2 separate regions of the Homo sapiens genome follow, and region 1 is linked to region 2. Evidence: promoter capture Hi-C in 16 types of primary human blood cells and fetal thymus (Javierre and others, 2016). All regions are on one chromosome and are shown on one strand. Each heading gives the region's core, a stretch centred on a gene start or on the middle of the fragment in contact. The rest is flanking DNA. Distances are from core to core; before and after follow the strand shown.

Region 1 (5,802 bases), core at 1,162-3,661, 62 kb after region 2:
GGATTACAGGTGTGAGCCACCGGGCCCAGCCAGAGAATACACATAGTTTTTTAACAACTTCTTTCAGGAGCTACATCAGTCAGGATCATCCAGGATATGCTGCAATTACAAACAATCTCGAAGTCTTAGTGGGTGTAGAAACAGAGATCTATTTCTTGGTCACACTTCCCTTCTATAGCAGGTTGGTGGTGGCTCTGAGTTGTGAGGCAGGTTTTGCTCTTGCTCCTGCTACGTGGCCCACCCAAGCACAAGAGGGCAGGGAGTAATCCTCTCCCATGGCACTGCAAGGTGAGGGGGAATTGGTGATGAGCAGCCTCCGTGAGCTACCAGTGAGCACAACGTTTAAAGACCACTGGACCAAATCATAAAGCTTTTTTCCATGGTGTAGAGAAATCCCACCAAGTCTCCTGGGAAGAGGGGGATGTGGTCCAGGAGGCCCCTTTCTCCTGCCCACAAAATGAGGGAAGAAGAAGAGGGGCAAAGAGAGCAGCGAGGGCCAGGGTGCATGTACTGTTGGCTTCATTTGCAAGTTGAAACTACAATGGGGGAATGCCTGATAGATCCAGATGGATTCAGGGAACCCCAGGGCCCCCAGGGTCTGCAGGTGCATGTGGAGAAGCCTTTCACAGCAGGGTGCAGGAATGACAGTAGGTAGGGCAGAAGGAAGCAGCAGAGAGATGAGCCCGAGGCAGGGCTCCCAGCAGCCCATGGCCTGGCTGAGGCCTGCAGAAGTTCCTACAGGCCCCATGGGAAGACATGGAGTGCTGAGGGGCCAGTGGAGGCCTGGGGTGAGGACACATGGGCTCCAAGATGTGTGGCCTCCATGATCACAGGCAAATGGCTGGAACCAGAGACTGCAGCAGTGGCCCACAGACCAAATGGGACCGGTCACCCCATGGCAGTCACTTGTCCAAGGCCAGACCAAACCAGACCCTCCACTGTGGAGGATGGCATGAACCTCAGGGCATCCCTGGGCCTTCTGTCCTTGCACATGTCACCTAAGTACCCCCCACCCCCACACGCATACATACATACACATACACATACACATACACATACACATACACATACATACACATACACATACACATACACATACATACACAGGGCTCATTTGCACAAGGAGGGGGATTCAATATCATTTCCATCCAAATGATAGAACATTCATCTGAAAGACATCGTCTTTCACAAGATTCTGTTTACACATCTCTAGGTTCAAAGTTGGACTTTAAAAGAAACTCAGAAGAGACTGAGATGCTAAGTTGAAGTCTTGGCACCCCCCACCCCCACAAGCACCCATGCCTTGGGAAGAAGATTCACTTGGACACATCTTTTCTGCTCATCTAAGCAGTGGTGTGAGCAAATCCCAGCCATCCTCCACGATGTGTCCCCTACTGAAACCTTCACACTGCCAGAGGGGGGTGCTGGTGTTCCGCCTCTTTCACAGATGAGGAAGAGAGGATTGGTGGGGTGAGTCGGTCTCACAAGCACATGCAGTTATTTGCAGAACTGGGGCTGTCCAGTTCCCAACCAGAGTGTCCCTCCACCAGGCTCACTGTCTCCCCAAGGCGCCAGTGTTTCTGGGTTGGTCTCACATAGATGGCTGTGGCCGAGCCTAAGCCAGAAAGGCAGGGTTTCCTCCAAGTCATGCTGGGAAAACACTACTTACAGACACGTATGCACTTCTGGGGCCCCCACGATGTGTATGTTGGTCTGCTTGATGGTGTCTCGCAGATCCTATAGACTCTGTTCAGTTTTCTTCAATTTTTTTTTTTTTTGAGAGGGAGTCTGCCTCTGTCACACAGGCTGGAGTGTAGTGGCACGATCTCAGCTCACTGCAACCTCCATCTCCTGCCTCAGCCTCCCGAGTAACTGGGACTACAGGCACACACCACCACACCTGGATAATTGTGTGTTTTTAGTAGAGACTGGGTTCCACCATGTTGGCCAGGCTGGTCTTGAACTCCTGACCTCAAGTGATCCACCCGCCTCAGCCTCCCAAAGTGTTGGGATTACAGGCATGAGCCACTGTGCCTGGCCTCTTCAATCTGTTTTCTTTCTTTGTTTTTTTGGAGACAGAGTCTCACTCTGTTACCCAGGCTGGAGTTCAGTGGCTGGATCTTGGCTCACTGTAACCTCCACCTCCCAGGTTCAAGCAATTCTTGTGCCTCATCTCTCAGAGTAGCTGGGACTATAGGTGTTCACCACCATGCCTGGATAATTTTTTTTTTTTTTTTGGAGATGGAGTCTTCCTCTGTCGCTCAGGCTAGAGTGCAGTGGCATGATCTCAGCTCACTGCAACCTCTGCCTCCTGGGTTCAAGCAATTTTCCTGTCTCAGCTTCCCAAGTAGCTGGGATTACAGGCACGTGCTACCATGCCCAGCTAATTTTTTAAATTTTAGTAGAGATGGGGTTTCGCCACATTAGCCAGGCTGGTCTTGAACTCCTGGCCTCAGGCGATCCACCAGCCTCAGCCTCCCAAAGTGCTGGGATTACAGGCGTGAACCACCATGCACAGCCAAGTTTTGTACTTTTAGTAGAAGACAGGGTTTCACCATATTGGCTAGGCTGGTCTCAAACTCCTGATCTCAGGTGATCGACCCATCTTGGCCTCCTAAAGTGCTGGGATTATGGGTGTGAGCCACCACACCCGGCCAGACTTTTTTTTTTTTTAAATTAATCTTTGTAGTCTGTCTCTGTGCCAATGATCAGCCAGAGCTATAAACTTAAGGTTTTCTCAAGTCTTCTCTGAACGTGCGTCTTCCCTGGGGCACACATGGTGACTCTCTAATTTCCCCAATATATGCAGTTGCTTTAGAATGTTCTGGTCTTCAATGTCTGCCTCCCAAGAGGGGAGAAAGAGAAATGTGAACCAGGTGGGGGCAGGCCCACAGTCCTTAAATCCTCTGGAAGTCACTTCAGTCAGAGGGGGAAGGGCTTGTAACATTGGGGGCAGGTGCAACCACAATAACCACCACCTCTTTGCACCTCAGTGATCAGAAGCAGCAATCAGTGAGCAGAGCACAGACCTCCCGTATTTGGAGGACAGGGTCCTTTTTGTTCACCCGGCTCCCACCCACCAGCTGTCTGCAAGCTGCTCCAGGAACATGTGCACAGCTGCCTGCCAGGGGCATGGGATGGGAGATGGGTGGCTGCTGCCTGCTGAGAGCTGAAATTGACCCAAATTAGCCACAGTTGGAAGCCGTCAATAGACTCCAGAGTGCCAAAATAGTCACATCAGACAGATTCTGCCGGCGCAATTGTTGTCTAGGTGAAGAGACAGATTTCTGGAACTTGCTACTCCACTGTCTTAGAATCTTCCTCTCCCCAATTTTTTTATTTTGAAAAATTTTGGCCAGTAAGGTTTTTTCAAAGGAAAGAAATTGGCTGGAAGATACTTATATACTAACATGTTTTGGGAGGAAGTTTTCTCCCTTCTGAGGCACATGCCTGTCTCTCAGTAAACACTGGCCTAAAGCAAGGTTGGGAAGTGACTTTCTCCCCGACAATATGTCAGGCTGGTGGGAAGTCTCCTCTCAGGAACGTCTGTGAGAAGAAGCAAGTGATTACAAGCTGGTGGATGCATAAGGAGCTCTTGATCTTGGGAGTGGGAAGGGGCCACTCCCATCTGCACATGGCCTCTTGCTGTTTCCCTGGCTTGTAGCATGGAGATTTATGGGCATGTAACTTTTACAGTCACTTTTTTTTTTTTTTGAAACAGAGTCTCGCTCTGTCAGCCAAGCTGGAGTGCAGTGGCACAATCTCAGCTCACTGCAACCTCCGCCTCCCGGGTTCAAGCGATTCTTGTGCCTCAGCCTCCTGACTAGCTGGGATTACAGGTGCACGCCACCACGCCAGTCTAATTTTTGTATTTTTAGTGGAGATGGGGTTTCGCCATGTTGGCTAGGCTGGTCTTGAACTCCTGACCTCAAGTGATCTGCCCGCCTTGGCCTCCCAAAGTGCTGGGATTACAGGTGTGACCCACCATGCCCTGCCATGATGTCACTTTTCTAGCAAGAGGTCTCCTTGTCTGTATTCAAGTGGGGGGAGGTAGAATGGGGAGCAACAGGTGTGACCAGAAAACAGTCTCCCCACCCAGCCCACCCATCTCTTTCCCCATCCCAGGAGGGTCCTCTGTGGCCTGTGGAGGGTGACAGTGCCCCACACTGGGAGCCCTTTTCCTCCCAGATCTGAGCCCCTTCTGAAGGGGTGGGATGATTTGAAGGGGAGCTGCTCTGGTATTTCAGGAGGTTGAAAAAGGAAGGTGGCTGTACGTCTTGTGCTGGATTTCCTGGGCCTGGAGAGGACAAGGGCCATGGAATCTACAGGGAGAGATGCTGGAGCCCACTCAGACCCTGCATTCTCGAAGCAGGAATCCCTTGGGTGTGTTTGTGCCCAGAAGGACTGGTGAAGCTGGCACTGTGTGTGGAACCATCCTCTTCTGGAAGCTTACGCTGCTAGTGGTGTCACTGCAAGCAGGAGGGCAGCCCTTAGTAGCAGAGCTTGGTGGCCCGAGCTCTGGTGGTCTGAGATGCGCTGGAGTTCTTACCTACACAACAGGAAATGTTCAGAGTGCTTTCCTTCCTCCCTGCTTCTCTCCCATCCTCCTTCCCTCCTTCCACAAAGCATTTCACACATACATCAAAGAAGAACGAAGAGAGCAATAAACTCTCTTGTACCTATCAGGCAGCTATCAGTTACCTACAGTGAGCATCTCAGGACCACTTGTTTCACCTTTTTTTTTTTTTTTTTTTGAGATGGAGTCTCACTCTGTCACCCAGGCTGGAGTGCAGTGGCATGATCTCAGTTCACTGCAACCTCCGCCTACCTGGTTCAAGCGATTCTCGTGCCTCAGCCTCTGGAGTAGCGGGGATTACAGGCACCCGCCACCACGCCTGGCTAATTTTTGCATTTTTAGTAGAGATGGGGTTTCACCATGTTGACCAGGCTGGTCTCGAACTCCTGACCTCAAGCGATACACCCACCTTGGCCTCCCAAAGTGCTGGGATTACAGGCATGAGCCACCGCACCCGGCCTGTTTCACCTTTTTTCTTTTTTTTAAGTTCTTTTTTTAGTTGTAGAGACGAGGTCTCACTATGTTGCTCAGGCTGGTCTCGAACTTCTGGGTTCAAGCAATCTGCCCGCTTTAGCCTCCCAAAGTGCTGGCATTACAGATATGAGTCACTGCGCCTGGCCTCTTTTTTCATCTTTATGCACTCACATCCACTCACACGATCAGATTATTTAAAAGCAAACCTCAGACATTATAGTATTTTACCCATAAATACTTTAGGCTGTATCTCTAAAGGCTAAAATTTTCTTCTTAAGAGATGAGGTCTCACTCTGTTGCCCAGGCTGGAGTGCGGTAGTGTGAGCTTGGCTCACTGCAGCCTCAAACTCCTGGGCTCAAGTGATCTCCCTGATTCAGCCTCCCAAGTAGCTAAGACTACAGGCACACACCAGCATGCCTGGCTAATTTTTTGTGTGTATATATGGTCTTGCTATGTTGCCCAGGCTGGTCTTGAACTCCTGGCCTCAAGCAGTCTTTCCACCTCAGCTGGGACTACAGGCGCATGTCACCAGGAGGATAAGAATTTTTTAAAAACCCAATTGCACTATCACACTTTGGCATCTTTGGCATCTTTTTTTTTTGAGACAGAGTCTCGCTCTGTTGGCCAAGCTGGAGTGCAGTGGCATGATCTCGGCTCACTGCAACCTCCGTCTCCTGGGCTCAAGTGATTCTCCTGCCTCAGCCTCCCTAGTAACTAGGATTACAGGCACTCGCAACCATGCCCGGCTAAT
Region 2 (6,146 bases), core at 1,776-4,275:
ATGCTCAGTAAACATTTGTTGATTGGGGCAGGGCGCGGTGGCTCACGCCTGTAATCCCAACACTTTGGGAGGCCGAGGCGAGTGGATCATGAGGTCAGGAGATCAAGACCATCCTGGCTAACACGGTGAAACCCCATCTCTACTAAAAAAATACAAAAAATTAGCCGGGTGTGGTGGCGGGCACCCGTAGTCCCAGCTACTCGGGAGGCTGGGGCAGGAGAATGGTGTGAACCCGGGAGGTGGAGCTTGCAGTGAGCCAAGATTGTGCCACTGCACTCCAGCCTGGGAGACAGCGTGAGACTCCGTCTCCAAAAAAAAAAAAAATTGTTGATTGGCCGGCGCAGTGGCTCACACCTGTAATCCCAGCACTTTGGGAGGCTGAGGTGGGTGGCTCACCTGAGGTCAAGAGTTTGAGACCCGCCTGACCAACATGGTGAAACTTCGTCTCTACTAAAAATACAAAAATTACCGAGGCGTGGTGGCGGGCACCTGTAATCCCAGCTACTCAGGAGGCTGAGGCAGGACAATCGCTTGAACCTAGGAGGTGGAGGTTGCAGTGAGCCAAGACCACGCCATTGCACTCCATCCTGGGCAACAAGAGCAAAAACTCCGTCTCAAATTTAAAAAAACACACACACACATTTGCTGATTAAATGACACATCCATTTCCTAACTGCGCTGGAGAACCTGAGCTCAAATGTGTAGGAGTGGGTAGAAAAGAGACATGAGTGAAATATTAAAATCTCCACAAAGGCATGTATGGAGGTTTATCCTGGAGTATTTAGCATCCTGAAACAAGGGGCTCCTGTGTAAGGAGAAAGGAAGTTTGAGCAAATCATAAAGGTCCCTTTTGCCTGACAAAGATTAGACAACATCGGCTGGGCGTGGTGGCTCATGCCTGTAATCCCAGCACTTTGGGAGGCCGAGGCAGGCGGATCACAAGGTCAGGAGTTTGAGACCAGCCTGACCAACATGGCGAAACCCTGTCTCTACTAAAAATACAAAAATTAGCTGGGCGTGGTGGTGCGTGCCTGTAATCCCAGCTACTCGGGAGGCTGAGGCAGGAGAATTGCTTGAACCCAGGAGGCAGAGGTTGCAGTGAGCTGAGATGGCGCCACTGCACTCCAGCCTGGGCGACAGAGTGAGACTGTCTCAAAAAAACAAACAAACAAACAAAAACAAAAAAAAAAGATTAGACAACCTCCATTGACCCAATTCTTAACGCTTTTTTTTTTTTTTTTTTTTTTTTGTGAGGCAGGGTCTCTTCAGTTAATAGGGTTGCTTAAAAAAAAAAAAAAAAAGAGAGAGACAGGGTCTCAATCTGTTTCCCAGGCCAGAGTGCTGTGGTACAATCAGGGCTCACTGCAGCCTCGACCTCCTGGGCTCAAGTGATCCTCCCACCTCAGCCCCCCACCCCAAGAAGCTGGGACTACAGGTGCACCATGTAGTCCCACCATGAACACTCCTGAGTTCATGACACATGTAAGTGGTCCATGCAGGGCCTTTTCTCCTTTGTGTTTATTTATGTATTCCCTTTTGTCCCTATTCTTCCCCTCTCTCCCCACCACACCTGGCTAATTTTTTTGTTGTTTGTTTTTGAGACAGAGTCTTACTCTGTCGCCCAGGCTGGAGTACAGTGGCACGATCTTGGCTCATTGCAACCTTTGCTTCCCAGTTTCAAGCGATTCTCCTGCCTCAGCCTCCCAAGTAGCTGGAATTACAGACACCTGCCACCACACCCGGCTAAATTTTGTATTTTTAGTAGAGACGGGGTTTCACCATGTTGGCCAGGCTGGTCTTGAACTCCTGGCCTCAAGTGATCCTCCCGCCTTGGCCTCCCAAAGTGCTGGGGTTACAAGCGTGAGCCACTGCGCCCAGCCTAATTTTTTGGAGCGACAGGGTTTCACCATGTTGGCCAGGTTGGTCTTGAAGTGCTGAGCTCAAGCCGTCTGCCAGTCTCAGCCTCCCAAAGTGCTGGAATTACGGGCGTGAACCACCGTGCCCAGCCAATTCTTATGCTTTTGCAGCCGCGACCTCCATCCACTCTCTACCCTACATGTCACTCCTCTGCTTAAAACCAAAAGATTTCCACTGTACTTAGAAAAAACTCCACATTCCTCTCTCTGACCTACAGACTCTATGTGACCAAACCCCAATTATCCGACCTCATCTCCTACCACTCTTTCCCTTTCTTACCATACTTTAGCCACACTAGCTTGCTTTCTGTTCCTTGACTATACTCTCAGTTGATTTCTGCCCTAGGGCCTTCACACTGGCTGTTCCCGCTGCCTGGACCACTCTCTTCCCGTATCTTCCTAAGCCTGCCTCCTAATTTGGGTCTCAACGCAAATGTCCCGTCCTCAGAGATGCTCTGCTAGACCACAGTATCTAATACTGACCCCTCCGCCCCACCCTCACACCAGTTACCGTGTCATATCGCCCTCCTCCATTTTTTTTTTTTTTTTACTATACAGTCCTACTTGAAGTTTCTAATCTTTCTTTTCTCATTAACCAAAACTGGAGGGAGGAAAAAGCCCATCATTTTCCCTGGACAGCAGCGCCTACTGGGAGTTTCACCCGCATTAACATGCAAACGACAGGCAAACTCCTAGTCATCCTTCCAAAGACCCTGCTCCATAGCCCTGCCGAGCCCGGTGCGCACCTGCTCACTTCCGACCCAGCGCGGTCGCACGAGGACTGGACGTTTGAGTCCGAGCAACTCCCCCCGGCTGAGGCGGCTCTTCGGGGGCTGGGCCGGGACCTATGAGTCTGGGACTCCAGCTCCCGGCCCAGGGCCGACAACTGCGAAGAGAACAAGCCCAAGGGCAGATTGTTCGGGGCTTAGTCGTGGGTAGCAGGGGTTCTGGAGAAGGCTGGGGCCCGGGAGGCCGGCCGAGCTTTCCCCGCCGCGCGCCTCAGCTCCGCCGGCCGCTGTGCCCGCCCTCGGCCCGCACCTGCCGGCTCCCAAGCCCGCCCGCTCTCACCTCGCCCCGCAGCCCCGGCCCCGGCTTCCGGCGCCACTGTCATCGGAACCGGAAGCCGCGGCGGGCGATCGGCGGCCCGGGCCCGCCCATTGGCGGTTTTGCGGAGGGGTGGCCGTCCCACGAGCCCGCGGCTTTGCGCCTCACCGCCGAGGCTCCCCGCCGCGCATGCCGAGTGGAGTCGCCCGCGGGAACCGGGCGGCGGCCAGAAAAGCCGCGCCTGTAGTCCTCTGGGGGTCGCGCCTGGTCGTTTCCAGGTTCCGAGTCCCTCCGGCCCGGCCCCGGGCCTCCCAGTCGGCGGAAGCCCCTGGCCGCGACCGCTCCTCGCCGGCGGGCGGGTTCCCCACCCGGCAGAGGCGTCGGCCTCGCACTCAACCCAGCACCCGACTCCCGGGTCAGAAGCCCCAAGCCCCAAGTGGTTACGCTTACAGCGCTGCCCGCCCTGCTCAGTGAGGGCGGCGCGGGGGCCGTGAGGGGCAGTGGCTGGGCTAGGTGCGCACCGGCCTCGGCAGGGCTGTGGAGCAGGGTCTTTGGAAGGATGACTAGGAGTTTGCCTGTCGTTTGCATGTTAATGCGGGTGAAACTCCCAGTAGGCGCTGCTGTCCAGGGAAAATGATGGGCTTTTTCCTCTCTCCAGTTTTGGTTAATGAGAAAAGAAAGATTAGAAACTTCAAGTAGGACTGTGAACAGGCTTAGGGATCCTGGACAGAGCCTAGAAATCTCAGGAGAACTGAGAGCTCTTGAAATATGAAGTGATGCTTAAAAAAAAAAAGAAAACTCCAGGCCGGGCGCGGCGGCTCACGCCTGTAATCCCAGCACTTTGGGAGGCCGAGGCGGGCGGATCAGGAGGTCAGGAGATCGAGACCATCCTGGCTAACACGGTGAAACCCCGTCTCTACTAAAAATACAAAAAATTGGCCGGGCGAGGTGGGGGGCGCCTGTAGTCCCAGCCACTCGGGAGGCTGAGGCAGGAGAATGTCGTGAACCCGGGAGGCGGAGCTCGGAGTGAGCCGAGACGGCGCCACTGCACTCCAGCCTGGGCGACAGAGCGAGACTCCGTCTCAAAAAAAAAGAATAGAAAACTCCGGGCCGGGCGGCTCACGCCTGTAATCCCAGCACTTTGGGAGGCTGAGGCGGGCGGAACATAAGGTCAGGAGTTCGAGACCAGCCTGTCCAATATGGTGAAACCCCGTCTGTACTAAAAATACAAAAATTAGCCGGGAATGGTGGCAGGCGCCTGTAGTCCCATGATCCTAGCTACTCGGGAGACTGAGGCAGGAGAATCGTTTGAACCCGAGAGGCGGAGGTTGCAGTGAGCCGAGATCGCGCCATTGCACTCCAGCCTAGGCGACAGAGCGAGACTCCGTCTCAAAAAAAAAAAAAAGAAAAGAAAAGAAAACTCCTTTCCTGTCCCAGCCTTTCTGGTCCCCTTAGCCCGAACTTAATCTGCCCACTGGGTATTCAACAGAATTCAGTTCTGCGGAGGAGGGGGTCCAGCCCTACCCTGCCGCCCTGTGTTGGTCGCTGTCCTGGGGAACGGGGGAAGGGGAGAAGATGGGAGCTGCCCATCTGCCCTAAGGAGGAAGGGTGAGGGTTAGGAAGGAGGAGGGAACAGGCACTGACCCCAAACCCAGGTCCAGACTGAATTTTCTTTTTCTTTTTTTGAGATGAAGTCTTGCTCTGTTGCCCAGGCTGGAGTGCAGTGGTGTGATCTCGGTTCACTGCAACCTCCACCTCCAAGCTTCGAGCGATTGTCCTGCCTCAGCTCCATGAGTAACAGATTACAGACATGCTCCACCATGCCCGGCTAATTTTTGTATTTTTAGTAGAGAGGGGATTTTGCCATGTTGGCCAGGCTGGTCTCAAACTCCTGACCTCAGGTGATCCACCCACCACAGCCTCCCAAATTGCTGGGATTACAGGCATGAACCACCACACCCAGCCCCAGATTGAATTTTCTATCCCGGACCCTCTGCTCTGGAGGGAAAGAGTAGAGAAGTCCCCACTCCTCCTCAGGCCTCAGCTGGGACTAGGAACAGCCCTGGAGAAAAAGCCAGGTCTCTGTGTTGCCCACTTCTGCTCCCTTTTTGGTTGGGCCTCATTCCAGGCCATCCTCCCCTTGAATCCTCCATGCCTTCCCCTCCCTCCCCTTTGCACAACTTACTTTTTTTTTTTTTTTCAAAATAGAGAGGTGGTCTCCCTATGTTGCCCAAGCTGGTTGCGAACTCTTGGCCTCAAGAGATCCTCCCCTCTCAGCCTTTGGAAGTATTGGGATTACAGGAATGAGCCACCATTCCTTGCCCTGTTTTCTTTTTTTTTTTTTTTTTTGAGACGGAGTCTTGCTCTGTCGCCCAGGCTGGAGTACAATGGCATAATCTTGGCTCACTGCAACCTCCGCCTGCCAGGTTCAAGCAATTCTCCTGCTTCAGCCTCCTGAGTAGCTGGGACTACAGGTGCACACCACCATGCCTGGCTAATTTTTTGTATTGTTAGTAGAGACGGGGTTTCACCATGCTGGCCAGGCTGGTCTTGAACTCCTAACCTCGCGATCCGCCTGCTTCGGCCTCCCGAAGTGCTGGGACTACAGGCGTGAGCCACCGCACCCAGCCGACCTGTTTTCTTTATAGCACTTGGAAGTTATCTTGCGTGTTTATTTGTTCATTCTGTCTTCTGGCCCCCACTCCCATCACCCTCTTTGGGGCCAGACATGGTGGCTCACGCCTGTAATCCCAGCACTTTAGGAGGCTGAGGAGGGAGGAATGCTTGTGCCTAGGAGTTCTAGACCAGTCTGGACAACATAGGGAGACCCTGTCTGTACAAATAATACAAAAATTAGCCGGGTGTGGTGGTGCACATCTGTAGTCTCAGCTACTTGGGAGGCTGAGATGGGAGGCTGCCTAGGAGGTCGAGGCTGCAGTGAGCAGTGATCGCGCCACTACTCCAGCCTAGATAACAGAGTGTGAGAGACCCTGTCTCAAAAACAAACAAACATGGGCCAGGCGTGGTGGCTCATACCTGTAATCCCAGTACTTTGGGAGGCCAAGGCGGGTGGATCATTTGAGGTCAGGAATTCAAGACCAGCCTGGCCAACATGGTGAAACCCTGTCTCTACTGAAAATACAAAAAAAAAAAAAAATTAGCCAGGCATAGTGGCAGACACCTGTA

Evidence for each region. Contacts are between HindIII fragments. The CHiCAGO score rates a contact against its expected background, and 5 or more counts as called.
Region 1: a fragment that was not itself captured here is called in contact with the fragment with the promoter of RMND5B in region 2 in 3 of 17 cell types (naive CD8 T cells, total CD8 T cells and naive B cells); the score reaches 6.9 in naive CD8 T cells.

The regions. Positions count from the first base shown.
Region 1 is chr5:178,065,762-178,071,563 of GRCh38, reverse strand. No RefSeq gene overlaps it. Among named protein-coding and RNA genes, the nearest start is that of N4BP3, 45 kb to the left of the region's middle. RefSeq lists a silencer at 2,945-3,024. The HindIII fragment of the contact is 4,078 bases long and covers 373-4,450 here.
Region 2 is chr5:178,127,893-178,134,038 of GRCh38, reverse strand. RMND5B (required for meiotic nuclear division 5 homolog B) reads right to left here and starts at 3,025. Exons shown (of 11, transcript NM_022762.5): 1 at 2,985-3,025; 2 at 2,663-2,802. RefSeq lists enhancers at 1,392-1,921, 3,200-3,851, 3,852-4,503, 5,517-6,146 and a silencer at 2,879-3,468. The HindIII fragment of the contact is 11,712 bases long and covers 1-4,724 here.